Linked DNA regions of Homo sapiens: all the other regions are linked to region 1. Evidence: promoter capture Hi-C in 16 types of primary human blood cells and fetal thymus (Javierre and others, 2016). All regions are on one chromosome and are shown on one strand. Each heading gives the region's core, a stretch centred on a gene start or on the middle of the fragment in contact. The rest is flanking DNA. Distances are from core to core; before and after follow the strand shown.

Region 1 (3,495 bases), core at 884-3,383:
CCATGTTGGCCAGGCTGGTCTCAAACTCCTGACTTCAGGATACATCCACCTCGGCCTCCCAAAGTGCTAGGATTACAGGCATGAGCCACTGTGCCCAATCTTACAGTTGAGTGTTTGATCTGCAAATTCCAAGGGTATGCTCCTCTCCTGCGTGTACCTTCACAAGGCACTCCTTTACTCCGTATACATTTGCACTTCTTGACTTCTTTTTTGAACCAGTTACAACATCTGCCTATTTCTCTCTTTAATGAATAAAATAAAATATTTATCACTTTTATATCTGTATAAAAGTCACGATTTCACCTTTGGCTGAAAATTATCTTTTAACAATGTAATCAAACATTCCCTTTCTAACACTGGCAGTCAGACAGGTAAGAGAGGTGATAAAGTATGGTGAGGGTGTGGTTTTCCTGATTTCACGCCCTAAGGATTCAAATAACTCACAAGTCAGACTTCCAGGCACAACGCAGTTCTCCAACAGAAATAGAGAAAACAGATTTTGACAAGCAAAAGGGACTGGTGCAGTTGGGATTATAACAAGCAGGGAAGTCTAGGAATACATCTCCAGCCTCCTGGGAGAGCCTGAGCCCGGAGGGGGCAGAGAGGAGGAGGAGGGAGGTCTGGGGGAAGAGAGGTCTGCAAAGTAGGGGAAGGGAAGGCCAGGAGGGAGGGAGGCGCAGCGGGGAGGAGAGGAGAGAAGGGAGGAATACATTTCTGGAAGCTTTAGAAATTTAGAAATAGAAACCACGTGGAAGTGCATCCAGGGCTCAGGGTTACAGAGGACCCCAAGACAACACAGGAAAGTGGGGTCTAATGGGAAAGGCAGGAGGTTTCTCCTTTACTGCTTAAACATTGTAGGAACTTGCATGGCAAGTGATTTTCAATCTTGCAGCAGGGAAGGCAGGGCCAGTACTTATCCTTAGATGATTCTACAAACATCAAACTTCTCCAAATATTTATTTTTCAGCAGCCATGCTTGTATTTTCCAAGTGTCTATGGTCGAGATAGCATGAATTAGGAAGCTACCTGGATGAGCCCACAATGGCCCTCTTAGACATGCCAACGACGCCCCTGCAGAATCTGCTTTTTCTCTGGCTGTTCCTAGGCCTGGATAGGGTTCCCAGGCCTGGACAGGATTCCCCGGATACCGGCGAGGCTCATTACTAACCACTTTATTTTAAATGGGCTTTGAAAACAACAGGTGGCATCTTCCATCAGCAAGTGGACATAAATCTCAGTGCCCAGTGTTTCCAAGGCCTGCCCGACCCACATGGCTGTGGGGTGTAAACTGTCCAGTCGTTCCTGGCACACCTACCCAGCATTTAGGATGTCCCACTCTTAGATCCATAGACCCAGCACCTCTCTTCTTAATACCCACCCTAAAGAAAAGCTGTCGAATGTGGATGCTGATTTAGTTGCAAATATGCTCAGTTTTTTAATAGTTTTATATTAGTAAAAACGCTACAACCAGAATGTCTCACTGCAGGAAGAGAGTTACAAGGAGTATTTAACGGCATGGTGGAAAGGCTCCTCCGTGCTAAATGGCCAAAACGAACGCAAGTTTGCATACGGTGTGATTTCCACTATGTCTTTAAAATGCATGGCGAAACACCTACAGGAAAATACCAAAATGTAAACAGCGGCTGCTTCGGACGCATGGGATCGTGGAGGCTGCTGTTCTGCAAGGACAACGTATCACTTTTATGAAAGTCAGCTTCTGAAAACGGACTATGGGAAGTTCCTTACCCGTGCACGCGGCAAAGACCTTCTTTGCCATAGTCAGAACACACGCGGGAGTTCAGAGGAGCGGGGCCCGGGCTTGTGTGGGCTTGTGTGCCCCGGGGACGCGCACGTACCTTGTCCCGCGGCCTGAGACTGCGCTGCACCGCGCGGAGGCCGAACCCAGAGGAGGCGGCGTGGCGCCGGGCGGGGACGCGAGAGGGACGTGGACGCGGCGACCGAGGACGCGGGGATCCTGCGGGACCAGTGGCTCCAGTCGTAGCCTCCTGGGAGAGCCAAGCCCGGAGGGGGCGGAGAGGTGGAGGAGGGAGGCCTGGGGGAAGAGAAATCTGCAAAGTCGGGGAAGGGAAGGAAGGCCAGGAGGGAGGGAGGCGCAGTGGGGAGGAGACGAGAGAAGGGAGGGAGGGAAGTGTGAGGGGAGGGGAAGAAGTGGGGTGGTCGGAGGGTGGGGTAGGGAGGAAGAGGGAGGGAGAGATGGGAGAGGCTCCAAGATAAAGAAAGGTGCAGGGAGAGGGGGTGGGAGGGAGGGAACCGCAGAGAGGAAGGGAGAAGAGAATCAGGCAGCCTTGAGGGAGGAGGCAGGGAGGCCAGGAGAAGGAAGACAGCCAGCCTTCTGTGAGATTTACGTGCGTGCCTGGCTTCCAAGACAAGTAACTTCTGTTGTAAATACAAATTAAGCTATTTTTTGTTTATTTTATTTTATTTTATTTTATTTTATTTTATTTTATTTTAGAGATAGGGTCTTATTCTGTCACCCAGGCTGGAGTGCAGTGACACAATCATAGATCACTGGAGCCTCGAACTCCTGGCTTCAAGTGATCCTCCCCTTCAGCCTCCCAAAGTGCTGGGATTACAGGTGTGAGCCACCATGCCCAGCCACAATTTTTTTTTTTTTTTTTTTTTTTTTTGAGATGGAGTCTAACCCTGTTGCCGAGGCTGGAGTGCAGTGGCACGATCTCAACCTCAACCTCACTGCAACCTCCACCTCCCGGATTCAAGTGATTCTCCTGCCTCAGCTTCCCCAGTAGCTGGGATTATAGGCACGCGCCACCACGCCCAGCTAATTTTTGTGTTTTCAATAGAGACGGAGTTTTACCGTGTTGGCCAGGCTGGTCTCGAACTCCTGACCTCAAGTGTTCCACCTGCTTCGGCCTCCCAAACTGCCGAGATTACAGGCGTGAGCCGCCGCACCCGGCCCCAGCCCCAAATTAAGCCTTTTTTTAAAAAAGAAATTAATACACGTTTCATACTTGCCTCCTTCGTATTTTCTCTGGTCATCTGCCCAAGGTTATGACAACAGCTTCAACTTGGCTGCAGAAGCACACCCCTGTGGCTCACTCAAACTGGAAACATACAGGAAAAGGGAATTCTAGGAATATAGCTCAGCCTGGACAAATGGGCACATTAAAAAGCCATTGCACCGTGGTGGCCGCACTTCCTGCCATCCCCACTGCAAAGGTGTTGTTATGGACTGAATGTTTGTGTCCCCTCCAAAATTTGTACGTTGAAATCCTAACCACCCCGCCCATGGTGGTATTTGGAGGCGGGGCCTTTGGGAGATGCTTAGGTCATGAGGGTGGAGCCCCCAAGAATGGGATTTGTGCCGTTACAAAAAGAGGCAAGGGAGCTTGCTTCCTCATCTGTATGCCAGGAAGAGGATACTCACCAAGAACCCAATCCTGCTGGCCCATCCCAGACTTCCAACTTCCAGAACTATAAGAAATAAATGTTGTTTAAGCTACCCAAGTCTATCTA
Region 2 (3,506 bases), core at 948-3,447, 380 kb after region 1:
CAGTCAGCAGCCATCAACACTGAGGCAAGACCCTCTACCAACAAAAAGACTGAGCCTCACTGAAGGCTCAGATGATCATTAGCATACAGAATTTTTAAATTTTTAAAATTTTAAATTAAGTTATGCATTGTTTTTTAGACGTAATGCTACTGTACACTTAATAGGCTACAGTGGAGGGTAAACATAACTTTTATATGCACTGTGAAACCAAAAAGTTGTGGGACTCACTTTATCACAATATTTGCTTTATTATGGTGGCCTGGAGCAGACCCTGCAATATCTCTGAGGTCTGCCTGTACATATTCATTATTGAAACGCAGACAAGCAAAACAAGTTAAAATCACTTGTACTTCTGTATTACTGTACGTGTGTATTTATAAAGATTGACACACACACACAACTACTGTCCCATCACAACTGCTGAATGGCCATGGAGACTCTGGAGGCTAAAGGAGATCCCCAGCAATGAGGGTGGTCTACCCTGTGAGTACGCCACCCTTTGCAGAGGTGGAGTGGAACTCCAGGACGCAGAGGCGCCATCCAGCAGTAGGGCGCCAGCCTGGAGAGGCCTCCATGTTGGGTGTTCCTGACAGGCTCCTTGGTTGAGCCCAGCCCCACTGTGTAGTAGCTGCCACGTGAGGCTCTCGGGGGACCTGGCTATCAGGAATCTGTCTCCAGCACTGGTCCCCTGTGTGCACTGAGGACGGGAGTCTGGAGCCCAGGGGCCTGCCACAGTCCCGCCCTTCCTCCCTGCCCTCGGTGCTCCTCAGAGGTGCTGTCCTCTGGGCGTCTCCTGCATTGATCACGACAAGGGTGGGGTTCTATGCCTCGAGTATGTACCCGGAGAAATGTGTGTGAACAGTGATGATATGAGATCATGACAGCTCTGCTCTAGCCTGAGTGCTGGAAAACACACACGGAAGCTGAGGCCTAGAAACCAGCCTCTGACTCCCAGGGCACGCTCTTTCCTTTCCTAAACCCACATTTAGCACCTCACTCCCATGTGAGCTGCTCAAGACACTGTCCCATCGCAACTGCTGAATGGCCATGGAGACCCTGGGGGCTAAAGGAGACCCCCAGCAGTAAGAATGACCCTCCCCCCACAGGCCCAGCTCATTCCAGGAGTGTCCAGGGCCATGGTTGCAGGTTGCAGCGTCTAAGAGTCCACAGGAGTCATTCACAGATGGCGCTGTCCTTGTGAAACCCCAAATTCACGGAGATAGCTCCTTTGTGCTGAGTCATGACTGAATCTGCTGAGCTTTAGTGGCTTGGTGGATTCTGCTCATAAAGACAGAGGATGTCAATGAAAATCATGCTAGGCTCAGCATAAGAAATGTGCCTCTGCCAACCACTGGGTGGCGAGGGGTGAGGTGAGGCCCACCGGGTGTGGCGATGAGCCAGGGACTGGTGTCCTTTGTGCTGCATCCTATACAAAGTGGCTAGTCATTCTGCTGGATGTGGTGCTGGCGACTTGGCTGAGTGATGGCAAGACTGAGGGTCTGATGCCGCAGTCAAAGGGACTCACTCAGGATGGAAAGGCCGTGAACTTGCCCTTGTGCACACCCTGAGGGCTGACTCCGAGCTGAGGAGCAGGGACAGGGAATGTCACTCAGTGGCAAGCTTAGGTCAGAGCAGTCTCTTGGGGCACAACCAAAACAGTGTGCATTCCACCTAATTAACCTGGGGAAGAACAACATGAAGGCCTGAGACTTCATCCTGCACTGCTGTGCTCCAGCGCCCCCATCTGTTTGGCACTGGTAAGAAATAAGGCACTGAAAGAAAAGAACCCCATGTGTCCAGCACTTCCGCAGGCGAGGTCCTTGCTTTAAGACTGCACTTTTTACACAATATTCAAGAATTGTGTTGCATGAGAAAGTCTTATCGAGCCGCAAGAGGCGACTCGGCGGGAAGTGACAGGACACCAGACTGAGGGTCTCCTTTAGCTCTGGTCTGCTCAAGGCAAACGTTCTTCCTAAAGACAGTCCAAGCTCTCCCTCCCTTCTAACTTCGCTTTGAAACCCCAGCCAGCTCAGCAACTAATTACAAAAAAATTATGTACCATTTTAGCCATTTTTAAGTATACAGTTCAGTGGCATTAAGTATATTCATATTATTATGCTATCATCACCTTTATCTATTTCCAGAACTTTTTCATCATTCCCAACAGAAAGTCTGTCCCCATTAAACACTAGCTCCCCATTCTCTCCTCCTCCCAGCCCCTGGCCATCACCGTGAGTTTAACTGCCCTAGGGATCTCATGTAAGTGGAATCATACAGTACTTGTCTTTTTGTGTCTGGCTTATTCCATCTAGCATAATATTGTCAAGGTTCATTTATGTTGCAGAATGTGTGGGAATTCTTTTTTGAGGCTGAATAACATTCCACTGTACAGACAGACCACATTCTGCTTATCCATTCATCTGCTGATGGACACCTGGACTGCTGCGAATGGTGCAGCTATGGACGTGGGTGTATAAATATGTGCTCGAGTTTCTACTTTCAATTATTTTGTGTGTAACTCAGAAGTGGAATTGCTGGGTTATATGGTAATTCTGTGTTTAACTTTCTGAGGAATCACCAACCTGTTTTCCACAGCGGCTGTTCCATTTTAGATTCCCACCAGCAACGCACATGGGTTCCTATTTCCCCATATCCCTGCCAACGCTCGTTGTTTTCTGTTTTGTTTTATTCTGTTTTTTTGGATAAAGGCTCTATTCTAATGGGTGTGAGGAAGTATCGTACTGTGGTTTAGATTTAGCAACTAATTTTAAGAATAAGCTTCCCTGCCACAGAATAATAAATATCAATCTGTATTGATCATTCATTAAAGGTCTTTATGAACCAAAAGTCGCCCCCAAAATTCTTCTCTAAAACTGAAAAGGCCATAATTGGCTGTAAGGACATATGGCAGCTGCCCATGAAAAGATGGCAAAAGGCAGGCCTCTTCCAAAATGTCTAACAGCGATATGTATTTTCATGTAACTTGTCCCGTGACAGAGCGTATGTTGTGTTGAAGGTTTTCATCAAGTTTGGCCCAAAGGCTTCAGAGCCCAATCCTTTTTTCCAACTATAATTAACAGCAACTTAAATTGGCAAATAATTATTTATGACGTTTATAAAGTAAAAACAGTTACTAAACTCTTTGAGATGTGGTAGCTTGAACAAAATCTCACAAGCGAGAAACCCCAGTCAAAGGTCTGGGTGTAAGGCTGTACATGCAAAACACACCTATTTTAAATGCCATTAGGCTTCCATGCAAAGTATAACCTACATTTCTCAAGTCTAAGAAGTATGATAGCTGCTTTGAGGATTTATTTAATCTGATGAAAATCATTCTGACAGATGCTGTTTTGAAGATGCAACATTATTTTCTCTCAGGAAACAGAGAGTGAAAACTATCAACCCTGCCCGCCCCATATCCTCAGGCCTTTCCAGACTTTAAAAACTACACTTATTTAAATTGAAAAGAACTGCAAGCCAGGCAGAATTAGCCAGGATTAGAATCC
Region 3 (3,543 bases), core at 1,030-3,529, 420 kb after region 1:
CACAGAAGAGAAGCCCCAGAATTAGGGAACGCTGACCTTGTACAGGGCTGCTGGTGACCTTCCCTCTCCACTGTCGAGAGGGAGAGACAGAGACTTAGCTTGATCCTGGAATGTAAGCAACTGTTTTAGGGAAGTGGAAGGGAAACTTCTGTAAGCTGTATTGTCCTAAAATGTCTCCTTATACGAACATTATTAACTTGGCTGTAAATGTCTTTGCTCAGAGGACCTGGACTGTGCAGAAACATGACATGTCCATAGGAACTGTCTCTCAATGTGCCCATGTGTCAGGAGAATGGGTGGCTGGCACACAGCAGGCAACAGTACCTGGCCACTGCCCCGGGGGAGCTTGTAGTCTGAGAACCACCCACAATGGAACCACAGTGTCATGAGAGGGGAAGTCCCAGGTGCCTGTGGGAACGCACAGGGGTCAGCACACCCTGATGAAGGCAGGGCTGTCAGGAAAGGGTTCCTGGGGCTGGCTTCCAAGCTGAGACTTGACGTTTGGATTGGCTGGTTCTGAGTGCCAGGCAGGAAGCCCTGACAGTCGGCCGTGAGAGGGTGGTGGGGATGGGGCCTGCTGCCTTGCTCCTGATGCTCAAGGGCCCGACTTCATTCTGAGGGTTTAGATGGGGGGGACTGGGGAGAGGGAGAAATACATGTTGATTCCCTGGTTCTGGCTTGGACAACTCAATATCCAAGTTATGAGAGCCTAGTAACAAGATGGAAAGGGGAGCAGAGTTTGAGGGACGAAAATGGTGTGCTGTATGTAGGCAATCTGCTATGTTTCTGGGAGTATAAATTGAGATATCCAATCTATGCAGTCATCCCTTGGCATCCATGGGAGAGTGGTTCCAGCACCCCTGTGGATACCACAATCCCACAGATGCTCACATCCCTGATATAAAATAGTGTAGTATGTGCATATAACCTTCACACATCCTCCCATATACTTTAAATCATCTCCAGTTACTTACAATTCCTGATACGATGTAAATGCTATGTAAATAGCTGTTATCCTGTATTGTTTGGGGAACAGTGACAAGAAAAAAAAGTCTGTACCTGTTCAGTACAGATGCAATCATCCATTTTTTTCCTGAATATTTTCAGTTCACAGTTGGGTGACTCTGCCGTGGGTTGAACCCTTGGATGCAGAACCCACAGATACAGAAGGCTGACTGTCTATGATTAACAGGCAAAGAAAAGAACATGAAGGCGGTTGTAACTTACTTTTTTTTCCTGGATATCAGAAAGTGAAATGCTATTTTTTTGTATTTATTTACTAATATTTGTTTACAAATATTTATTCTTTTGAGAATTATTTGTTCATCTTCTTTTGAATTCACTGGGAATTTGATGTGTTTATGACTGATTTATATGAACTTCCCATTCATTTTCAGTCTGTATTAGGTTTTCAGCTATCACTGCTACTTTTTAGAAACCTTAAGTGTGGAGTTACTTAAAATCCTGGGGGAAAGATTTAGACTGAGCCCAAAGGATAGGCCAAAAAGACAAAAAAGAAGACCTCTGATGGACCAAGACTATGTTCTTTTGCCCTATTTTCAGAGCTTCAGGGAAATTAAATATAAACGGATGTATGGACAAGTCAATTCTGAGTTTAAGAAATTAAAGCAGTGCTACTAATTGATAATTTTACTGATTTGTTAATGTTCTTGAGAAAACTTGACCTTCCAGTAAGTCCAAGTAAACAGATACAATCACCAAACTCCTGGGTTCAAATTAATCACACACTAGGAAAAACATGTCTTGCCTTAGATACAACTTTCGATCACGACCACAGCACTGGACAGGGGGCTGAGGGGCTAACCCACGAAGAAGGTCTGGAGAGATACCCCTACGTGGCACCCTTGTGTCAAAGTGTGAATGAATTGGGGGGAGAGATGCGGAGAGGAAGAGGCAGGGGGAGAGGGCCAGTCAGCCCCATCCCCAGAATCAATGACATCATTTATTCTGCTTTTTTCAAAATGAACATTGATGCTGTTCCCCCAACCAGTACAGATTCACCATATTTCCACCTATCGAAATTCTATGTGCTCTTTTAGGTTCAAAGAGTATCAACTTTCTCATGTTAATTAAACAGCATGTTAATTGACAACATCCATGTTGTTAATTGTCCTAGTTTTTTTCTCAACCCACGGAACTTATTTAATATTGCAGGGTATCAACAACCCTTTTCCCACAAAGAGTGTAGGTTTCAAAAATGTCAAAACAATTCCCTCATGCCCACTTTCCACTGAAGCCAGGTATAGCTGAAAGTTAACCTTAGCTACAGAGGTCATGCTCTGCTGTTCTGTAGGTAGGAATGTTAGATAAATGCAATGAATTCATGCTCTTATAATCAAACAAACTTTATACCCCACCACCATCTTTGAAAATAGGCACCCATATCAGAACATGTGTATTTCTACTCCATCATCTTAGCTTCCCTCCCCTTCATTTCCTACCTCCCACGATGCTCCCCCAAAAAGTAAACAGCAATTACTTCTCTTAATTTAGATTGGCCAAGATTGCCCTAAATTTCATTATCACTCTGAAACTGCTACAAAGGAATGCTCAACAGATGTCATTTATAATCTTCTTTATTCCTGACTTAGATAAATTCAAAGTGATCTAGTTAGAGGTTTTGTCAAATTCTTGGAATACCAAAGATGTCCCCTATTTTCCAGTGTTCTTTCTTCGGTTGTCCCTACCTAGAATGCCAGAGCAACTACAGCCAACCACATTCTGACTAGCACACCAAACACTCTTGATCGTGCCTAGTTTGCAGGATCCTTAGCCTCAGGCTTGCCCATACATCCTGAAGCCATGTCCACAGAGATGCTACTCCAGTTCCCCTTAACAGAAAATTCATCCTTACGGCGACCCCAAGTTAACAGTGAAGCAGAAGTGCTCAGACATCCAGGAACTGCCAGAGCCTGCCTGGCGAGCTCCAGCATGCACTTGTGGGCCCACGAGGACCCTGCCTGCACAGCTGTGTCCTGGGACAGCTACCCTAGCATCTGTCTTCATTTCCTCTTTCCACATGCATTCTGCAGAAGGCCTTGGCTACCATTAATGGTGGTTACGAAAATTCAATCAGGCTGTCCTCACAGGCGGTTTTCTCAGGAGATAAAGACCCTTCACTGCCCCTTGCCTTCTGTGCTTTCTTTGCAGCATTGCTAAGTCTACTTGCCACAGCTCATCTTCAGCTGTCCATGTGCTTATCATCTGTTGTTCCCAGTGGCATGGCTGCCCTGTGAGAAGAGGGATTTTGTTTTGCTCACTAATGTGTCCCCACTGTGTAGAGTACCTGGCACAGACGAGGCACTTACAGACATCAGGGGAATAAGCAAATGCCCACGTGCAGCGAGTGGATGCTCAGATGTGCGTGCCAGGGAAAACAGCTAAGGGCTGCTGCTGAAAAAATTATGAGGACACGAAACCCTGTCCTATACAAATCTACTACAAGAGTGGGGGACTGAGAGCCCCGGTGGGGGGGAATCTTTCTCTACTGAGAGCCCTGGTCGAGAAGAATTTTTCTCTACT
Region 4 (3,602 bases), core at 793-3,292, 310 kb after region 1:
GTGCCCCCACGTTGACGTCAACTGGCAGGACAGCGAGGGGAACACAGCCCTAATCACAGCTGCACAGGCAGGTAAGAGCTGGCTTTCCCCTTTCCTCTCAGAGCCGTGGCCAGAGCACCGCCGCCGGGCAGCCCGGGCTCCCGTTGCGATGCAGTCAGGATGGAAATGATCAGAGACCATGTCCTGCTACCAAGGGGTGCCAGGGAAGGGCTGATTGCTGTGACCACACGCTATGCATTTACCCACTTGTTCAGAATTCAGTATGGGCAGATCAAGCTCCGATACTGCCCAAAGTTTTTGAATATGAATCTGTACCAGAAAGCCACCCTTGTCACCGCTTCACCTGAAGCCTCACACTCCATCCTGCTCCCGAAGACTGGGGGTGGCACGAGGCTGGCAGACCCACCAGTGGAAGAGACACAATCATGTGTCTCAGTGATAGTTAATCATGAAAGTAGACACGTGTAGAAGGTGACTTTGCACTTCACCTGTAGAGTTAAAGAAACGCCAGGAACTGTTTCTGAGAGCTGTTAGAGTATCCGTGTAACAAGCTGAGATGAAGTCAGTGGGAGCATCTTGTGAGCGGGTATCCAAGCATGTGGCCCTCAGCCCATCAGTCATCAAGAAGACAGTGCTTATGTCAATATTGCCAAGTGCATTGCGACTCTCCTGCTTTGGAACTGTATCCAGACATTTTTTTGAGGACAGACATGAAACCTATGCTTGCCTCTTCATAATCACACTTCATTTGGAACAGTGGTCTTGACCAGGTTTATCACTGACCCCTTTCACATTTCTTTGCCTCCAAAGATTCTGTCTGTTTCATCGGTCAAGTTCTCAGTTGCAAGCAAAGAAGCTGCCTGCAGCTGAGCCAGGAAGAACAGGCGCTTGTGTGTTGAAGGAAGGAGGGGAAGCTTACACGGTTGTCGGGTTGTTGAGAATCCCACTCAGGGCCTGGAAACTGGAGGAAGTGCCCCCGACCACACTGTATGTTGATTCTGGTTGGGAAATGGCTGTTGCTGTCACCAAAAGGAGACCTCCTTGTCCCTTGTTGCTTCACAAGCTCCTGGACCAAAGCCACCCTGGGTGGATCTGATGGGTGGGGGGCCAGGGAGGCTGGAAAACCAGTGTTTGACAGTTTCATCCCCTGTGGTGGGAGTGGTCTGGGCACCCTACTTTTCAATCAAGACGAATAGAGTGGGGGAACTCTTCAAACTTAGAAAGGGCCAGGGGCTGTGCTAACATGTGTTCACCTCCTCAGGTTTCGAAGCGTGAGGCATCACTTCCATGGAGGGTTCCAGGCTTTGAAAACCTAGCAAGAGTGTGAAAGGGCTTTGTAAGGCATTCAGTGATTCGTTTCCTCTCGTGGGCCAGCTGCCATGTCAGGGACCAAGGATACAGAAGTGCAGGGCAGCCCCGTCCTTGAGTAATTCTGCAGCTCATGGGACAGAGAAACACACGAAGCCCAGCACCATCTGTCTGCCGGAGCTTGGTGCTGTGGGATGAGAACACTCTATCTAGCCTGAAGTTCATGATAAGGTCTTGCAAGAAGGGGATTTGAGCTGGGGCTGAGAGGGAGCCGGGCAGTTCTCAGGAATGGCGAGTCTTAGGGACAGTGTAGGTGGGCATGGCTGTAGGATGGCGTGTGTCTAGGAGAGATGAGGGAAGGATGGGGACCAGACCATTAAGGGTCTAAGCCCAATGCAAGGGAATGTATTTCAGTAGCGTGAGGCTGCGTGAGTGGTGACAGGGGTGAGAGGATCCCAGGGGCGTAGCAGAGGGCTCAGAGCACAGGGAAGGGCCGGGAGCTGTGTGGCTAGAAACACAGTTGGCGGTGGTGGTGATGCGGGCCATGGAGGAGAGCTGGGGGTCTAGGATGGCTTTGGGCTTTGGGACAGGGGATAACACCAACTGCAAAGGGCATATAAGTAAAAGAAGATGAATGGGAGGAACATTGGTTTTGAGCTGGCTATCATGACTTTGAAATGCTCTGAGACCTCTAAGTAAAGAGGTCTCCATGGCAAGTCAGGAAGAGAAGGAGCTCCAAAATCTGGTCCCTGCTAGAAATACAGATGAGGGACAGGTGTTGCTGGTGAGAGCTGGGACAAGGATTAGGTCATGACAATATGAGAATGTACGATAAGAGGGGATTTCTTTTCTTACTGATCTGCCAGAGCTCTTTGTGCGTTAGAGATAATAGCTGTGCTTTGATACCCATGAGGTGCTTTCCAGAGTCTTGCCTGTTTGCAGGTGTTTTGATTTTATATTCACCCATGATTGTTTCTTCAGAGTCAGGAGCACATCGTATATTTTTGGCAAGAATATGGCATTGGCCATGATATGTCCTTGGTGTGTCCTATCAGGACACATACTGCCAGTGTGTCCTGGTGTGGGTGATGCTAAATTTGACGAACTGCTTACATTTCTCCATTTTAAAGGCAGATATTTCCCCTCTGTAATTAGTAAGTAATCTGCAAGGTGATACTTAGAGATTGTATGAATATCCTGTTTCCCCACCAGTTTTTGCCATTGATAATCCTTTTCTGAATCATTTATTTTACACTTATTATCTGATATTTTTCTATAAAGAAGAGCTTTCCTTTAGCCCCACCCTTTTTTTGGTACCATTACTCATTTTTTAAAAATCTCGTGTGTTCTACTTCAATAACGCCTTTGTTCTTTTCAGTGCTGAAGTTATCCCAAACCCAGCCAGTTGGTAACCCTGAAGATGGCTCCAGTGTCCTTTTGTCATATTTCTGTCAGTTTTGAGTATTTTCTTGATTTATGGCACACCAAAGTGTTCCACATTCTCCCTGGACTTTCCCAGTCCCTGTCTGTAACCAGCTGTATCTTCAAGGAATGATAGTTCTTTTTTTAGTGAGGAATGGTATTTAGAAACCAAAATCTGGACTCTAGCTGTGCTCATTCACACTAAATGTTATTGCTTCTAGGCATTTCAGTGAGCAGAGTTAGAAAAAAAAATATTTAAAAAATAAGGATACCTCCAATCCAAATGCAACACCATAGTATTCCTCCTCTTCACCCTTTCCATATGCTTCCCCCATTCTTTGTCGGCAAGAAACCTGGTTTGCAGCAATCACAATGCATTTACCCATTTTCCTGTCCTACGACAAATGTGCACAAAGTGGTGATACTAAAGGATAATTTTCAAAAGCTTAAAAATTTGACTCTTAGGTGGACAGAAAGTGAAAACTCATTAATTAGTGATGGGCTAGTAATTAGTTAAGGCCAGTTCAAAGGAAATTTGAAGAACAGGCACATAGAGGCAATCACAAATGCTGAAATACATCTGCTAATAGATGCAAAACTGGTTAATATCCTATAAGGCAATAGAATATAATGTTGTGGGTTATCTTTTCTATAAGGTGATGTTATGGACTGAATGTTTATGTCCTCCCCCTCAAATTCATATGTTAAAACCCCAACTCCCAATGTGATGCATTAGAAGGTGGGGATTTGGGGAAGTAATTAAGTTTAGATGAGATCATGAGAGTAGGGCCACCATGATGGGATTAGTGTCCTTATAAGAAGAGGAAGAGACCAGAGCTCGCTCCTTCCCCACCATGTAAGGACACAGTGAG
Region 5 (3,403 bases), core at 153-2,652, 350 kb after region 1:
CTCTGCCCGCTTCTCTCCCTGCTGTTGGCGGTGACCAGGTCTCAGGAGCGGAGACGAGGCTGTTGTGAGTGAAACAGAAGCCCCTGGCATAGGGCCAGACCCTAGGCCTGAAAAGGATGCAAAGCCTGCTGTTTTCAGGCTGTTGGGAAGAATCGTGCGTACCGAGTGATTATGATGAAACGTATCCCAGAGAGGAAATGAATGGGACCTGAAAAGTGGGTCTGCCACATCCCTGGTAGCCCGCCTCCAAGAGCACTACACTCCCCCCAGCCCCACCGGCCACACTACATGACGTGGGAAGGCTGTCCGTTCATCCTTACCCTGGGGACTCAAGTGTGCTCTGCGGAGTGAGTCACAGCCCTGATGTGCACCCTGCACTACTCTTTCCCCAGGTGCGCCGGAGACGCAGGCTTGCTCATTTCCGTCCTGACACAGCTCGCTGTTCCTGCGGTGGTCAGAGTCCCCCTGTGCTGTGTCAGCTCCTGGACACTACTAGTCTTTCACATGATAAAGCGCGAGCACTTTTTCGCTTTTGCAGTATTTGGGGAAATTCTAACACATTTCCCGGGGATTTGCCCAGGTCCCTCCACCTCCCACGGTGGGTAACTGTGTGGATTCTGCACCTGGCAATCGGCGCTCCCCTTTGGAAACACCTGGGGGCCCTGTTTCTTCCAGCCTGGTCCTTGGTTTCTACCCCAGCCGCTTTCAGCCGGCACCTGCATGGGACTGCCTGGAGGGCCACGGTCCAGGGAAGGACAGGTGGGACCCTGACCATGACAGATCTTTCTAAAACAATAAAGTCCCATTGATGACAACTGCAGTGGGATGAATGCCATTGCAGCGGTCATGCTGGGAGCTGCCGAGAGCTTACAACAAAAGCAGTTCCTCTCAAGACACTGCTTGCATCTTCCCTCCACGCCTCTCGGTGCATTTGGAACTTGTTTATGCGCTGGTATAACTCGAGTCAGCTGCTTATTTCTGTGCCCTTGCACTCACAGGTTCCTTCATTAACATTTTAAATAAGTGGCTAAAAAAACTCCTCTGGAGGTTGTTTTTGAAAGAGACAGGAAAAAGAAACACACAGTACCTGGATTGTTTTGACTTATTTTCAAGCGACTCAGCTGAAAGCCGGTGTTGCATACACAATTTCCTCACGCTGACCCAGCCTGACTAAGACTTGATAAAAGGCACAGCCCTTGGCAGCAGGCAGTGCCAATGTGGACAGTGTACACTAAGCTGTGAGTGTGTGCACGGGCGAGCACATGTATGTGTACTCATACATCCAGATGAACTAAAGGGACACTGGGCTTTGTGCTGGCAAAGGTTACGATGCTGCTGTAGCTTGGCTGTGGGCCCCAGGCAGTGTCAGATGGAACCTGCTTTGATGGCGTGTTGTTCAGTGTACTCAGTGGGGTCTCACATGGCCCGAGGACCCACTGTGAGCACTCCGCCCGCTGTGGCACAGAACACGGCTGGGGTCATCACAGCCCAGGTCTTTATTGAAAGGCGGCTCATATAGAACCCATTTGGCCAGGTCTGGGCCATCTCTCTGCCTCTGCCCTATCTTGGCTGCCTGGAGGGGCCCAGGCCCAAGAGGATTCTTTACCCCTGGAAGAGCTCCCCAGGCATTCAGCCTATGGCCCTTGACATTTGGCTGCAGGTTACCGTCAGAATCAACACCATATCCTGAGGAAGCCCTGGTATTTCCCCAAGTCTGCCTATGTATTAGACACTCTAATCAATGCTAACACAGTTCAGTTTTTGAGGGAACTAGTTTTGTCATAATACTACACCCCTCTATTGTTTTTAAATAAGAAAAAAAAAAACCCCACGAAACTTTCCATCAAAGCAATGGTCCGTGTTGGCCTGATGCTTTAAGAAGTTTGAGGAGGTAGGTATGGAGGCACCTTAACACCAGTTTTTGAGCAGAAGTTCTAGAAGCTGATTTAGAACTACACAGCTATGGATACACCTGATGAAAACCGCAAAAGGCGATGACAGGCCCAGAAATATGACCAGCAAGCCCGTGAGCCTTTGGGGCATCCGACTGAATTTGAAAATAATACCCCATTCAGATGAACATTAAAAGCCAATGTACTGGAATTCTCTTTGTTCTGCCCGACATTTGGGGGTGTCCAAGGACCTGTGTTTTTAACAAAGATGACTTTATGACCGTTCTAAGGATTGAACAGATTCCTGCACAGGGTGCCAGGTTTCAAGTTAGGTCCTCTTAGTATAAGCTCTCTTTTTTTCTGAATGTAAACCTATTTGCATTGTCATTTCTAATAATCCAGTAGGTTTCTGGATATTGTAAAGATACTGAGTACAGATATAACTGTGTAAATTTCATAGTGTTTTATTTTGAGGTGAGAGTTTTGTTATAGTTTATAAAAGATATTTTCCTATTCAGACCTCAGGGCTATTTTGGGACCTACAAATAAATGTGATTCCCAGCAGCTTCAATTTTTGATATTCAAAAAGTTAATAATCTTTAAGCTAAATATAATGTGATATGATTCAGAAAAAAATGTTTTTCCCTTTTAACTTCTAACAAATTATGTATCTAATGTTTAAAAAATATGGAAAAAAGGGATAATGTAAAAATGTGGGAGAATTGTGGCTAAAGAATAAAAAATCACTTGTTAAAACGCATTCTTATGGTACAAATGTGTGATATTTAAATAAACTTAAGTGTGTATAAATTAGAGAATGATACAGTGAAATATACCAGGATTTTTCATGTCACTTCTTTTCATTGAAATAGACGTTCACTTTCTTATCGTGACAAACTTTCACCTTATTTTTCAAAGGTAAGATTTAAAAATTGTGAGTTCCCCACAAATAGTTTGTCACATGTTCAGATGATCTCATTACAATCTGCCTCTTCTCAGAAGAACCCACTGGCAGGTGGGCATCCTTCAGGGATGTTGCCATGAATTTATGTACATACATAAAAACAAGAATATAATTCAGTTTCTATGTGTTCTTTTACCTAAATGGTACACTGTACAGGTTGTCCATTAGTTTCTTTTCTTTACTTAAAATATGTCCCTAGAGAGCTTTTTAAAGAATTTAAATATTTTCTTTTGACAGCTAAAAAAGTAATACACAAATATGAGAAAAAATGTAAACATTGTACAAAGTTCTCAGATGAAAGTGACTTTACCTTCCCCCAAGACAGTCCCTCAGACCAGCTACTTGTACATCCTTTTAGAAATACCTTTTGAATGCGTTCTTCCCTCCGTACTGTGCAAACAGAACCCGATGGGATATAGAGTCTCATTCACTCACTGTGTTTTGGGAAGGGCATGTTGGTCCCTGCTTTGTTCTTTTTCATTGCTGTGTAGTATTCCTCAGCAGAAGTGCACCATGGTTCATTTAACCATTTTCTCATGGGTGAACT
Region 6 (3,551 bases), core at 670-3,169, 450 kb after region 1:
GGTGGCTGCTGCAGTTCCTGGAGGCAGCCCTGCCCGGGGTGGAAATCAAGGCGCTCCTCCCCACAGTGGACAGGGACCCGCTGTGGTGGAATGGAAGTCAGTTATCCTTAAAAGAAATCCCATCAAAAAAAAAACTCCCTTTGAAGTACTTTTTTTCTTAAAACCAATGCAACACAAATTCCCCCAAAACCATTTTCCATCACAGTGGAATGATTTTCTAAAACCCCATGCCTCTTAAGTTCTCTGGCATCAGTTAGACATTTTTCTTTCCCAGTGCCAGTTAGTTTTGTTGTAGAGAGCCTCCGTCACCACTGAAAAATATTGCCTACTCTGGACTGCAACATATTTAAAGAACGGCTCCTATTCATTGTGCTGGTGCAGAGAATTCCCGCCCTATAGCGGAGGACAGCAGAGAAGGATAATGGGAATCTTTTTTTTTTTTTTTTTTTTTTTTGAGATGGAGTCTCGCTCGCTTTGTCGCCAAGGCTGGAGTGCTTTGGCTCAATCTTGGCTCACTACAACTTCTGCCTCCCGGGTTCAAGCCATTCTCCTGCCTCGGCCTCCTGAATAGCTGGGATTACAGGCGCCCGCCACCATGCCCAGCTAATTTTTCTACTTTTAGTAGAGATGGGGTTTCACCATGTTATCCAGGCTAGTCTTGAACTCCTGACCTCAAGTGATCCACCCTCCTTGGCCTCCCAAACTGCTGGGGTTACAGGCATGAGCCACCGCGCCTGGCCAGGAATCTTTATTGTCAAGAAAATGGCGCAAATGTGCCACCAAAAGAAGCCATGTTTCTCAAAGACTTCTGTTCCTACAAGACTGAGTTTATGACACTAAGGCGTGCTATTAAGACCTAAAAGAACCTCACGCATCCATACATTGAAGTGACTTGGCTTCTGAGACCCAAGGCCTTTGATCTTCTCACCAGTGTCCCTCCATATGGGCCGACTGCCACTGGAAAGGAGAGTAGAAACGGAAACAGACCCGTCTGGACAGAATCCAAAGTGCAAACAGGAACTGTGCCCAGAGAGAGGAGGAGGTGGCAGAAGCATGAAGGCTGCTTAGATCCCTATGTTCTAAGAAAGACCGCTCTTTCCTGGCTTTAACTTCCTTGGCTCAGAAGTTTAGGATTTGCTCAAAATCAGAAAAAGCAACTTTGGGGGAAAAAAAAAATCTGGATGTGGAAGAAACTGGCGGTGAAAGTCATATTGAGTGATTAATGATAAAAATTATTTCCGCTCCTTGGTTCTTGAGTCGGTATGAAACGCTGGCAGCCTCTAATTAATCATCACCATGATATTAACACCACTGACTTTTCATTGCTTCTGCTACTTTCTTTCTAGACATCTGTATCCTCTAAGTAAATATTATCCGCCAAAACTTTGTTATAAGTTGTGCAACTGGGTTCGCCCAAGGCACCGGAGCCTGCGCGCAATCGCACAGGTACGCGGCCGCCCGCGGTCCTCAGGAAGAAACGCTTCGCCGCCGCCGGCAAGCGGGGCCGAAGCTCCGGCGGGCTCCTCCCGGGCCTGGGCGCCCGACCTCTCCGCGGCCCGCGCCCCTCGGGCGGGCATCAAGGCCCGGAACCCGTCTCAGCGCTCGCCGGGGCCCTCCCCGCGGAGCCCCCGCCCGGCGCCCCCGGGTTCGAGCCCGCCCCCGGCACCCGCGCGTGGAGAGAGAGGAAAAGAGTCAGTACCGGCGGGCGGGTGTCCAGCTTTAGTCTCTAGTTTCCCTTCGGGAGGCGAAGACATGACGCGGCGGGGCTTCCGCGGGGCCGAGGCGGCGGCGCGGTTCTCGGGCCGGGCGGGCGTGCGCGAGTGAGCTCAGGTGTGAGCGCCGGGGAGCGAGCGGGCGGGAGAACGACGCGCGCGCGTGGGGCGCCGGGGCCGCGCGAGCCGGGTGAGTGCCACTGCCGTTAAGGGGGCGCGGCCGCCGCGCGCCGACGTGGCGCAGCCGAGCCCACCGACGGCATGCGCACTGACGTCACCGCGGCCCGCCCGCCCTGCTGGGCCGCGAGCCAAGCATACGGTGCGTGCGCAGCCGGCCGCGCCACGTCGGATGCTGTGGCCGGGGGCGGGGGCGGGGGCGGGGGCGGGGGCGGAGGAGGGAGGGGAGAGAAGGGGTGAAGAAGTGAGAGGGAGAAGGAAGGAGAGGGAGGCGGGGTCCCCGACTGGCTGCGGGGACTGGAGTTGCGGAAAGTTAAGTAGGGCCCAGCTGAGGATGGCTCCTGCAGCGAACGCGCTCAGCCGGGCTCCTGGCTACGCGGCGACGGCTGGGTGACTGCGCCCCACAGTGCGGGCCAGGGCCGGGGCGTCCCGGCAGGGAGGCGACCGTCCCCTGAGGCCCTCAGCCCCTGCCGCGGCAGCGCCTAATGAAGCGCGGAAAGGAGAGCCCAGATGGCAGCGACGGGGGCCGAGAGAGCAGGAATTTGTTAAAAGACGATGCGAGGGGAGAGCCTGCTTTCCGAGTGAGGGCCAGCGCTGGGGAGCAGAGACGGTGGCTTCTGTCCCTGCCCTCCTCGTTATGAACCAAAAATAAAATTCTAAGCCCTGCAGCCAACGGATGGACCCTCCCCTCCGCCTGTGGCCTTCTAAGTTATCTTGAAAAACTAGTTCAGGCCTTGATGGGAAGCGGAAGTCAAACATGGCCTCACAAACATCCGCACGGAGACCCTAAGACTAATAGAGGACTCTGATAAGAAACATTTGCAGTGTATTCCCGGCTTCATCTGCATGATAACACCTTGGTCTCCACAACTCCTTCATGCAACCCGGACATTCCCTTCTACTGAGTCCAGGTCTTTAGATGATAACTCTCAACCAGTTGCCAATCAGAAAACCTTTAAATGTACCTATGACCCGGACGCCTCCACTTCACATTTTACCTCCTAAAGAGCCAACCTACATCTTACGTATTGATTGATGTCTCATGTCTCCCTCAAATGTATAAAACCAAGATGTTTCCTGGCCACCCTGGGCACATGTCATCAGAACCTCCTGAGGTTGTGTCAATGCACGTCCTTAACCTTGGCAAAATAAACTTCCTAAATTGAGACCACTCTCAGAAACTTTTGGTTTTCACCATCATCTTCCTGTTGCCGTGGCTGACCCCTGGCTCTCGTGCCTTGGATCGTGTTCTTCCCGCCTGCCCCAGTGTTTTGCAACTGCTGTTAACTTCCGCAATGCCTTGCTGGATTCGCATTCAGACAGGCCTAATCTCTTTAGCGAAGGAAACACCACCCCTCGCTTGGCTGTACTTTTCCCTTTGACAACAAAACTGTTCAGGGAGGCTGAGCTCCTCATCTCTTGTCACTCCCTCCAGTCCAGTTTGTCTGGTTTTCATCAAGTTCTGCTGCACTGCCCTCAACCATGGGAGGTCCTTTTGTGGAAGTCACTTATAACCTATGTGCTGCCAGATCCAATGGTCATTTTCTACTTTCATTCTATTTGAGCTCTTAGCAGCACTTGATGCAGCTGGCCGTCCCCCTCCTCCTTTGCTCCGGAGGTGCCACATCACTGCCTTACCCTCCAGTTCTCTGGCCACCCTGG

Evidence for each region. Contacts are between HindIII fragments. The CHiCAGO score rates a contact against its expected background, and 5 or more counts as called.
Region 2: a contact is called between a fragment that was not itself captured here and the fragment with the promoter of CMBL in region 1, in 1 of 17 cell types (neutrophils). The highest score is 7.4, in neutrophils.
Region 3: a fragment that was not itself captured here is called in contact with the fragment with the promoter of CMBL in region 1 in 1 of 17 cell types (activated CD4 T cells); the score reaches 5.5 in activated CD4 T cells.
Region 4: a contact is called between a fragment that was not itself captured here and the fragment with the promoter of CMBL in region 1, in 6 of 17 cell types (total CD8 T cells, erythroblasts, neutrophils and 3 more). The highest score is 6.7, in total CD8 T cells.
Region 5: a fragment that was not itself captured here is called in contact with the fragment with the promoter of CMBL in region 1 in 1 of 17 cell types (neutrophils); the score reaches 5.6 in neutrophils.
Region 6: the fragment with the promoter of DAP here is called in contact with the fragment with the promoter of CMBL in region 1 in 12 of 17 cell types (non-activated CD4 T cells, activated CD4 T cells, total CD4 T cells and 9 more); the score reaches 14.4 in non-activated CD4 T cells.

What each region holds. Positions count from the first base shown.
Region 1 is chr5:10,305,769-10,309,263 of GRCh38, forward strand. It overlaps CMBL (carboxymethylenebutenolidase homolog), which reads right to left and starts at 2,134. Exons shown (of 6, transcript NM_138809.4): 1 at 1,857-2,134. RefSeq lists an enhancer at 1,412-1,912. The HindIII fragment of the contact is 4,286 bases long and covers 720-3,495 here.
Region 2 is chr5:10,688,277-10,691,782 of GRCh38, forward strand. All of the region lies in intron 2 of DAP (death associated protein), which reads right to left. Among named protein-coding and RNA genes, the nearest start is that of DAP-DT, 71 kb to the right of the region's middle. The HindIII fragment of the contact is 1,158 bases long and covers 1,619-2,776 here.
Region 3 is chr5:10,726,926-10,730,468 of GRCh38, forward strand. All of the region lies in intron 2 of DAP (death associated protein), which reads right to left. Among named protein-coding and RNA genes, the nearest start is that of DAP-DT, 32 kb to the right of the region's middle. RefSeq lists an enhancer at 426-925. The HindIII fragment of the contact is 5,093 bases long and covers 1-3,543 here.
Region 4 is chr5:10,618,392-10,621,993 of GRCh38, forward strand. ANKRD33B (ankyrin repeat domain 33B) reads left to right here. Exons shown (of 4, transcript NM_001164440.2): 2 at 1-71. Among named protein-coding and RNA genes, the nearest start is that of ANKRD33B, 56 kb to the left of the region's middle. The HindIII fragment of the contact is 2,261 bases long and covers 913-3,173 here.
Region 5 is chr5:10,655,165-10,658,567 of GRCh38, forward strand. ANKRD33B (ankyrin repeat domain 33B) reads left to right here. Exons shown (of 4, transcript NM_001164440.2): 4 at 1-2,652. Among named protein-coding and RNA genes, the nearest start is that of ANKRD33B, 93 kb to the left of the region's middle. RefSeq lists an enhancer at 969-1,917. The HindIII fragment of the contact is 7,367 bases long and covers 1-3,403 here.
Region 6 is chr5:10,759,315-10,762,865 of GRCh38, forward strand. It overlaps DAP (death associated protein), which reads right to left and starts at 1,920. Exons shown (of 4, transcript NM_004394.3): 1 at 1,700-1,920. The coding sequence starts at 1,754. DAP-DT (DAP divergent transcript) reads left to right here and starts at 1,722. Exons shown (of 3, transcript NR_187555.1): 1 at 1,722-1,902. RefSeq lists silencers at 1,476-1,905, 1,986-2,455 and an enhancer at 1,978-2,823. The HindIII fragment of the contact is 9,246 bases long and covers 1-3,551 here.